Regions from separate parts of the Homo sapiens genome. Here all the other regions are linked to region 3. The links are contacts of gene promoters, found by promoter capture Hi-C in blood cells and fetal thymus (Javierre and others, 2016). All regions are on one chromosome and are shown on one strand. The core of a region is centred on a gene start or on the middle of the fragment in contact, and the rest is flanking DNA. Distances in the headings are between cores, read along the strand shown. Region 1 holds the start of FAM3D (FAM3 metabolism regulating signaling molecule D). Region 2 holds the start of CFAP20DC-DT (CFAP20DC divergent transcript). Region 3 holds the start of PTPRG (protein tyrosine phosphatase receptor type G).

Region 1 (3,099 bases), core at 10-2,509, 2.9 Mb before region 3:
ACCATGTATGATACCTCATCTTGTTAATCATTGTGTCTTTTTTACCTGACCCAATTAATGCTCACTGGATGAATCATCTAGAAGGACACTCTTGTACCCAGGCAGCCCACTTCCAGCCATGGACTCAGAATCCACTGCAGTGTAGAGTCAGTGTGGCATAGTGGGCAGGAGCAAAAGCTTTGCAGCCAGATTGCCTGGGGAAGTTATTAAATCTCTCACTGCCTTGGCTCTCCGTCTGCAGAGTGGGAATAATCATGGTGCTTTCCTTGTAGAGGTGATAGGAAGATTAAATGTGTTATTATATGGAGAGCACTTAGCACATCATACATGTTATTTTATGTACTTCAGTGATGATTATCATAGTTGCGTAGACAATGAGAACTTCAGCGATTGATGGGGGATATTCAGACTCTCTCTCCCATTTTACAGATGAGGAAACTGAGTCTTAGTGAAAGGGACTAGCTCAATATTACATAGCTAGAAAATCTCTCAAGTCCATGCACCTTTGTCATAACTTTTCAGATCATTACCTTATGAGAAAAATGAGATTTGGGGCCAAAGAACAACATTCCTTTCTTTTTTATTCATTTTTCAAATATTTGTGTGGCTCACTGTTGATCATTGGAATGTGTTTTTTTGAATCAATAGATGAGTGAATGAAAGAATAAATGTTGAGGGGCCCCTGTGGTTAAGGAAAAAACCCTGCAGTGTGGGTTATCAAATCCCTAGCTGGCATGCCCTACAGCTCCTTCTTGTGCCCATGGCAGACATAGCTAATCAATCATAGCATGCTTTTGCCTGAGCCCGAACCCAGCCCCAGAATCCTTTTTATCACAGTCTAATTTCATTGATCAGGCCTGGTGCCTCAGATGAAATCTATTTGCCTTCCTGAGTCTGATCTCAGGAATCTCTTCGATTATGTGGTTTCCTTCTTTCTTTCCTTTCATCATTCTGTCTCAGGCTCTTTCACTCCTATTTCCCACCCTCCCCACCTCCATTTTCCCCTCTGTCAATCATGTGTACCTGGAACCATAGCCCTTTCCATTCTTGGGGGGACGTACCCGAGGGCTCGAGGCTCCCACTTCCCTGCTTCGATGGAGAAGGCGAGGTGGTCCAGCAGGTGCCGTAGGTCCCTGACCCAGCTGACCACCACCCTGGGCCAGCTTCTGACAGTCCCACCTCCCAGTTGCTGGAGGGGTAGTGGCCTCACAGACGGCCCTCCTCTAGATGCAGTGGGCCCAGAGGGTGAGACGGAGTGTTGCGGGCCGCCAGTGGGCCAGCTGCTCCTGCCCTGCGCAGGCTCTGCCCCTCCTTTGAGGAAGTTTGCCATCAACTCTCCCTGCCCTGTTAAACAATCTCACAAGGAAGGAGGAAGTTTATTCTAAGTGCTCACGGGGCAGGAAATGAGTCTAAAGTCTTGCCTGGCTGAGGAGTGGCTTAGGGCCTGGCTGGGGCCTGGGGAGAAGGGCCATGCCTGTTCCCTTCCTGTAGAGCTATCCTGACCTTGGCAAGGGAGGTTTGGGTGGGAATTCAAGCAACTTAATCAGGAATGAGATACCACAATCTGCCTTCGAAAACAGCCAAAAAACCTTACAAAAAACCCGACCCTGTGCTAACAACCTCCCCAGGCGCTGGGAGGTGTGGGGCTGGTAGAGCGAGTAACTGCAGCTGATGATCACCTGCTTTGAGGTTCTGGACTAGAGTGTGGGGGGGTGCTGGAGGGGCTGACTGGAAAGAGGGGAACCCAGGCAAGAAACTCAGGACAGGAAAGATGGAGGAGGTCAAAGGCAACTGCAAGATATTGAGCTTGGATGATGGAAAAGGGAGGCTTCTTGGTCAAGAGTGAGGAAGATGGGGGAGAGGAAGTGGTTTGGGAAAAGATTCTGGATTTGGGTGGGGCATATTGAATTAGAGGTTAAAGGTGGAGGGGGTGGGGTGTGGAGAAAGGGAAAGACGGAGAAAGAAAAGAAGGGCTGCTCAGTGGCAGACTTTTAGTGAAATGGTGAATGCAGCCTTTGTCTCCCTTCTCTCTCCTTAGGACCCAAGGTGCACTGAGAGGGGCTCAGCTTCCCCCTCCCCTGATCCAGCACTCCCAGTCTTTGTCACAAATCATGGTCTCTTTCCCAAGCGCTTTCCTCTTAGGAGGAGTTCTTGCCTCGGTCCTTGGCACACAGGCTCCTGGCAACTTCCTCCCTTGTTTGCTGACTCTGAATGCTTCCGTAGGCTGTGTGGCCCACTTGGAAGGAATATTCAGGGGCATGAGGTCCAGCAGCTGGTCAGGAAATGAAGATGCATGCCCAGGGAGCTGGTGCAAGGGAAGAGCAGGGAGCGGACCCTGTGTGATGAGGTGCCGGGAGTGGCCCCAGTTCTGCTGTTCCAGCTGCCCATCCCCAGGTAGGCACGTGGGCCCCCTCAGGATGTATCCCAGGGCGAGGCAGTGCTTTCCTTCACTCTGACTGGCTTTAGGACTGGTCCTGTCCTCTGTCCCATCTCCTTGCCTCTTGCTCTCCCTTATTCTGCTAGGACGGTTCTGCCCATAACTGGTGCCTGGGTCTTGTTCAGACCTGACCTGCAGTGTCACTTCCTCAGGGGGGCCCTCCTGACCCTCACTTCCAATATAAATAAGCACACAAGTGTAGGGGAGTAAAAATGGCTTTCTCTACCCTTCTAGCTGCCTTGGCTGGTCAGGAATTAAACTGACAGCAGGGAGAATAACAGGAGAAAAGGTACAGACATTTATCACATGCATGGGGGCATCCCAGGAAAGAAAAGGAATTCCCCACACCCAGTAAGATTTAGAAGCTTGTATACCCTCTTCACAAGGGAGAGAGGGGTGGGGTGTCAGCACCGTAGTGGAGAGTAAATGATTTCTGGGGAAGAGGAGTGGGCCCTCAGCAGGACAGGTGACGACAGCCTGTGACAAAGGCTATCTGGACGTAGTGTGGACCTTTAGACTCCTGTGAAACGAGCCAGTCCTTCCGGCTGATGAGATTCCCTGGGCGGAGATTCATGGCCACTGCGTTTGCTCTGGACAATCTGTCTTTAGACAGAAAAGGAAAACTCGGAAAGCCCCTCCCTGCAGTTGCTGTTCCCCAAGTG
Region 2 (3,347 bases), core at 54-2,553, 2.5 Mb before region 3:
TTTTTCTCGGCTCTAGTCTGAGATTCCTGTCAGATTGCTTTGTCAGTCAGCATGTAAATAGGCAAGAAGCAATCCAAGACTGACTTTTGAAACCTCTGACCCTATCTTGGGCCCTGACAAGTTCTGGGACTCTGGCAGGTCCAAGCTTTAGCTTCTCTCCTGTGCAATCACCTACTTCACTAGATTTCTAAGAAATAGATAAGATAATTTCAAGTATTCATTTAGTGGTAGGTGTGTGGCATAGTAGGCTGTCAAAAATGGTAGCTGCTGTTATTATGATGATCACCTATTAGCCCAATTCCCACCCATCTTACAGCTAAGAAAACTGGGAGACAACTATTAAAAAGCTGAACTCAAAATGTCCTGGCTCACAGTTCACTTCTTTCCATTCCAACACGCAGAACAAGCCTCAGCTTGCAGAATCTAACATCTGGGAGGAGCAAGCTCATTTTATGGCTATAAGCTAGCCAGAAAAGAATATGGCATGTATACTTACTTAATGAAAAGTAAACAGAAAGACCTTTTTAGTCCTTTGGCTGCAAATCAGAATCTTTTTGTGCAAATTGAATTCATTTTGTTATTGCTTCAGGATAAAATAGATTCCATTACCATTCTCCATCACTATTTCTCCATTTTTCTTGCTCTCAGTGTATCCCATCTCTTAGAATTAGAATGGGAACTTTGGTTGATCACAGTAGCCATTGGGAAGTTATAGGGTAAACAAAGAAAAATAACCTTTACTGATAAAAAAGAAGGAGTAAAAAATAATCTTTGGGATACCAGTAACACTTTTTTTTCAGTCGGAGTCTCCCCACTCTGTTGCCCAGGCTGGAGTACAGTGGTGCGATCTTGGCTCGCTGCAGCCTCCGAGGCAGATGCATCACTTGAGGTCAGGAGTTCAAGACCAGCCTGGCCAACGTGATGAAACCCTGTCTCTATTAAAAATACAAAAATTAGCCAGGCTTGGTGGCATGCTTGTAATCCCAGCTACTCAGGAGGCTGAGGCGGGAGAATTGCTTGAACCCAATAACATTTTAATTTGAAAAATTTCCATAAAATTAGACTAGAGAGCTTTTGTGATCATATATAAATTGTAGGTGTATGACCCTTTTTGAGATTTGTATTTCACCTAGCAGTCAGGAAAAATCAGGTTGAGTAAAAAAAGTAGGTTGAAAAAATAATTAAAGGGAAATCTGAATTTTTAACATTCAAATATATTCTATTAGGTTTTTTTAAAACAACTATTGACTATATCTTTTACTAATAAAATGCAGCCTGAGGGAGGTGACTCCACAATACAAAAATAGCAAGAAATTCATGATTTTTGCTCCTTTCTTAATAATTTTTCTGTATTTTTATAGGATGGCCAAAGCTGTACCACTTAATGCTTTCAACGCAGATGATATAATGGGGGTAAAAATCCAGCCGGGTCCCTCTCCATCTCCCCAAGTCTTACGGAGAATGAACCACCTTTTATCTTTATACAAAGACTCCATCTTTTCACCAAGTCACATGCCCTGGGGGCTGCATCTATTCTTAAGGGACACCTTTCTAACTTGTCCAAAAATCCTGTATAGGCTAGGATGGTATAGGTGTTATAGCCTTACTAAATAATAACATCATAACACAGCCTGAAATGAGCTTACAGAACAAATCTGTTTTCCAACAATAAGTAAACACTCCAACTCTTACACATAAAAGTTTGTAATAGAAAATTTACCCTGTGTGAAAACTTCCAAAGTTCAATTACTAGTTAATTCATTTCCTTTATTCATGCGTGCATCTATTCATTCAATACACATAATAAATAGTTCCACTGCTGATCTAAGATATAAAGAATTTCAGAGGGCGTTCCATAAACAGTGAGTAAAAGTTAACCCATTGCTATTATATGCTATCACTGTGTGATTACATGCATATTATCATGATTACCCATTAATTTATAACACTGCACTTTTAGATGGATTGTTGAAAACTTGCTTAGTGTTTTCGGAATAGCTGCTAAGAAAAAGCTAGCCTTTGATTAGCACCTAGCTCCACTGTTTTCTATTTACCCTTTGAAGAAAACCTGTTCTGAATGTTTGCCTTTGTAGCAATTGTTAGGTTGGAAGGGGGTCCTTTTGGGTAGTTGCTCCACCTCAATAGGTCTCTATACCCAGCTCAGGCCACAGTAGCAGGCAGGTTCATTTTAATATAAATAACATTAATGAATGTCCTGTGTTGTAATATTATTCTTGAATCTTTACTTCTCTAGGAGTTCTCTTTTTATTTCTCTTTATACCCACAACAAATGCATTTCATAGCTTTTCAATGAGCAATCAAATACTTTGCAGACCAGAGCTCTGACTTCCATGGGTTCTCTTTTGGGAATCTGAGAGGTTAGTATTTTATGTATTAATTATGTCAGTTCATCTTTTACATAACATTCATTAATCTCTCTGGTGAAAACATCCCAAACAAATCAAGCTTCCTTCTTTTCCTTTTACTTACAGGTGTTTTGGGGAGCAGTGCTAAGAAAGACTCCCCACCCTTAGTGAGAAGAGAATAATACTGACAGGGGCTTGTCATCTTGAGTGTAAGTGTTTACAAATTAATCAGGTTCACTAACTCATAGTGCCTAACAGGGTTACCAATGGAAGTTGTTACAGTACCATTGAAATATTTTTCTTTTACTGCCTATTTTCCCTTCTCCTGGTAATTATATACCCATTTATCTTTTAGCCCATTAAGTAGTATTAGTTCAATGCCCCACTCAAGAGTTGAACATTTACCTGGGTTTCAGCCAATTAGCATATCATATTTCCTGGTCACAGTGATTTGTTCAGAGAAAGCCTTGCCACCAGATTGGAACCAATGAGACAGAATGAACCTTTGGCTGGCTGGGAATGCTGGGGCGAGAGCTCCCAGTCTTTTCTATTGAATATGGATGAGGAGGAGCCATCTTAGGAACACTGTGAGAGCCTGTCTGACAATGGTGTGTATGCAGAGATGGGGAGAGAGAAGTTGGATTTGGGTGGCTTTGTCTGAGTCCTTGGGTCCAGCGATGCCTATAGTCAGATTTGCCCCACTGGATTTTTTCGCTATATAAGCAATTCTCATTTTGCATCATCTAGTTAGGGTTGGAACAAACGACTGATACAGCATAGAGGGTGTGAAGAAGTATATGGGTAAGGGTTGAAGATGTGTTTGCTGAGATTGAGGCATCACTGACACAGTTTGGAATCCCTCCTGGTTCACCTGCAGCCCAGGATCCCACCTCTTTGCGAAGACTTTGAAAGTTTCAGAAGTGAATTCTCATTCTAGTTTAGTCCCAAGCTTGGCCAACCCTGTCCCACTTGTAGCTACAA
Region 3 (3,268 bases), core at 504-3,003:
GTGTTCACCCCCGTTCTGCTAAAGATAGAGCTAGGGCCCTCCCCAGGAACTTCCTGGCTTTTATTAGTTTGTAATCCCATACGTAACTTTTCAAAGGTTTTTCTTTTGGAAGTGTGGGTGTGAAAATGCTTCCTTAATCACATCGAACGGGAGGATCTCCGACCATCTGTACTTTATTTGAAAACCTAGCATCCGGTTGGGATGTTTGGGTGGGTGGAGGACCCTGCCGTGTTGGGATGAAACAGCAGGGACACGTTTAAAACACAAGAACCATGCGCGGTGGCTCACGCCTGTAATCTCAGCACTTTGGGAGGCTGAGGCAGGCGGATCACAAGGTCAGGAGTTCGAGACCAGCCTTGCCAAAACGGTGAAACCCCGCCTCTACAAAAAAAACCAAAATAAAACAAAAAACAAACAAAAAAAACCACCAAAAAAATAATCAGCCGGGCGTGGTGGCGGGCGCCTGTAGTCCCAGCTACTCGGGAGGCTGAGGCAGGAGAATCGCCCGAACCCGGGAGGCGAAGGTTGTAGTGAGCCGAAATCGAGCCACTGTACTCCAGCCTGGGCGACGGAGCGAGACTCCGTCTCAAAACAAAACAAAACAATCCCACGTCAAGATCGCTTTGAAACACAGGCAGAAAAATTAGGCAAAAAATGTCAAACGGCTAATTACCTTGGCTCAGTTACACATTTACTCGAAAGCCCGCCTCCCCCACTTTTAGCCCCAGCGTTAAGAATGTAAAATAGGGCGCTTAGAAGTCTAAGCGATAAAGATCTTCTTACCGAGAGCCAAGGGACAAAACTCATTACAGATAAGCCTAGTCCTCCCATTTCCCCCGGACGCCTCTCCCCGATTGCTAAAGAAGCAGCCGCTCCCCGGGTAGCTGCCAGGAAATCAGTCCGGCCCCGCGGCGCTGCTTTCACCCTGCAGGGTGTAAGAGGCGCACTTCCTGCGCCCTCCCCGCGGCCAAACCGGGGTGCGGGAACCTTCTCCAGAGAAGCTGCGAGTTGGGGAAACTCCGCCACCGATCCATCGTGGCGCCGGGAAAGGGGATGCGGGGCTCGGAAGGGCTAGATTTCGCAATCCTGGGATCGACATTCCTCCCCTCCCCCACTTTCCCCAGCCTTGGACTGGGCCAATGAAAGCCCGAAAAAGAAAAAAAAAAAAAATTAAATCTCAATGTAGCCGGAGTGCAAAGGCCGCTCGGCTTTGTTTCCCGGCGGGGGAATGCGCTGTGTTGGAGGCGCGAACAGGAGCCGCAGACGGTGAGCCTCACCGCTGCAAATGCCAGGGCAGTGAAGCCGAACAGAAAACCCCATCGCTTTAAAAAGGCAGCTGTCCGCCCTCCCCCTTTCCCCTCGCCAGGGCGAGGGGCCCCTCAAGTCCGGGATCCGCGAGCTGCGCGGAGGATCTCGCCAAACCCGAGCACCGTGCGGCGTCTTTTAAGAGCTCGAACAACGGGAATCCAGCAAAAAACAAGCCGGCCCCAGAAGGCAGCCTCCCTCCTCTCTCCGCGCACGGGCTACAATCGCCCCCAGTCCCCAAACTGTCCCAGTAGAGGCCGCGCGGAGAGAGCAGAGCCGAGGGACCCAGCGCAAGGCGGGAGCCAAGCGCGGCTGCTTTAAGAACGCGGAGAGCGCGCGCCCGCCGCCAGCTGGCCCGGGCTGCGCGCCCCCGCCGCCACCGCGCGCCCCCTGTTCGCTCGCTCCTTCGCTCGCCGGCTTTAAAGTCTCTGCCAGGATCCATGCTCACATGTTACTTCCTGTATGGAGGCATGGCCAGTTTCCAGCCCCGCGCTCTTCGTTCCTTCCCAGCCTGCGCCGGAGCCACAACTTTCAGGAGCATGGACTGAAGGCGCCCTCGCCCCAGCGCCCCTCTGAGATCCTTTGTGTTTTCCTCCGTTTCCTCCGGCCGTTTCTATTTTGGGGGGCTCTCCGCTCCCCCTGCCTCTCCCCTCCCCTTCCCCTCTCGCAAACATGCCTCCTTCCTTCCCGGGGCCCTGGAAGGAGCTGCCTGCCTGAAGCCCGGAGACGCCGCGCCGCGCTCAGCCCCGCCGCCGCCCGCCGGCTCTCGGGCTGTGCTGCGCTGCCGACTCAAGTTGGGGATCCTCGGCTGCTCGCCGCCGCCGCCCGCGGTCCCTGCCTGCCCCAGGCCCGGGGCATCGCCGCCGGCCGCCGACTCCGCGCCCTGCCCGATCGGCTCTCTCCTTTTTAAACGGAAAGCAGCCTTTCTCCGCCGAGAGGATCGTCCCCAGCGTGGCTCTGCGTTCCCGGTCACTTTTTGAGATTTTCCGGGGGGCGCTCGGCGGCTTCCCGGATTCCAAGGGGACTCGGGCCGCCGAGCGCGGGGGGCCCGTGGAGCGGGCGAGCCGGGGAAGCGCCCCGGCTTAGCGGAGGCTCGCACGGAGGCAAGAACTTATTCAACAAGTTTACCTCCCTGCTTTCCTCTTTTCGATGTGCGTTTTCGGACATGCGGAGGTTACTGGAACCGTGTTGGTGGATTTTGTTCCTGAAAATCACCAGTTCCGTGCTCCATTATGTCGTGTGCTTCCCCGGTGAGTGCCGGCCGCCGAGGGGATGCGGCCCCGGCCGGCGCGCGTTGGGGATGCGGAGTTGTCGCCTGGGCGCGGAGCTCCGGCGCCCGTCCGGGAGACCCTGGAGAGGGTGGAGGGTGGCCCGGCGCCCGGATAGGAGAAAAGGATTGCTCCGCTGGCTTGGATGATGTTTAGGGAGGCAGGCTAGTGGTCGAGGAAGGTGGAGGCAGGGGCTGGCCGGGGAGGGGGCTGGGGGACGCGGGGGTCTGCTCCCGCTCCCTTTTGGGGGTCCTGGGGAGCTGGAATCGGGAGAAAGGGGGACTTGCTTTGCTGACTCGTCGCCGATCGGGAGAACTCGAGTTGTGGGGCGGTTGGGGAGACTGAGGCCATGGAAAGGATGCTTCTGTGGGTTTGGGGGGCCCGGGATGAGCCCCCTCGCTCTGGCGGGTATTGAAGGAACTCAGAAGGTGGGGGTTTGCTTTGCTGTTCTCCATCCCTTTGGGAGGGCTAGGTTTCGGGGAATGGAAGTCGGAGGCTGGCTGCGGAGGACTGAGGATGTGTGGGGAGCAGCCTGCGTTCTGGGTCGGGGGCGTCCTCCCTCTCTCTGGGGGCTGGGGCGCGGGCAGCACTTCGGTGCCGGCGTGAGGCAGCCTCCTTGGGCGCAGTGAGACGGCAGGGCGCAGGCGGTTTCGGAGAGATCCGTGTCTCCCCTAGCCCCGGCCCGTGGCCCTTTC

The links. Contacts are between HindIII fragments. The CHiCAGO score rates a contact against its expected background, and 5 or more counts as called.
Region 1: a contact is called between the fragment with the promoter of FAM3D here and the fragment with the promoter of PTPRG in region 3, in 2 of 17 cell types (naive CD4 T cells and total CD4 T cells). The highest score is 7.8, in naive CD4 T cells.
Region 2: a contact is called between a fragment that was not itself captured here and the fragment with the promoter of PTPRG in region 3, in 1 of 17 cell types (total CD4 T cells). The highest score is 5.8, in total CD4 T cells.

What each region holds. Positions count from the first base shown.
Region 1 is chr3:58,665,515-58,668,613 of GRCh38, forward strand. FAM3D (FAM3 metabolism regulating signaling molecule D) reads right to left here and starts at 1,260. Exons shown (of 10, transcript NM_138805.3): 1 at 1,062-1,260. LOC105377109 (a long non-coding RNA gene) reads left to right here. Exons shown (of 3, transcript XR_940879.3): 2 at 2,039-2,394. The HindIII fragment of the contact is 2,625 bases long and covers 176-2,800 here.
Region 2 is chr3:59,084,348-59,087,694 of GRCh38, forward strand. CFAP20DC-DT (CFAP20DC divergent transcript) reads left to right here and starts at 2,493. Exons shown (of 7, transcript XR_002959675.2): 1 at 2,493-2,575. The HindIII fragment of the contact is 2,321 bases long and covers 144-2,464 here.
Region 3 is chr3:61,559,818-61,563,085 of GRCh38, forward strand. It overlaps PTPRG (protein tyrosine phosphatase receptor type G), which reads left to right and starts at 1,754. Exons shown (of 30, transcript NM_002841.4): 1 at 1,754-2,555. The coding sequence starts at 2,471. RefSeq lists an enhancer at 1-531. The HindIII fragment of the contact is 7,216 bases long and covers 1-3,268 here.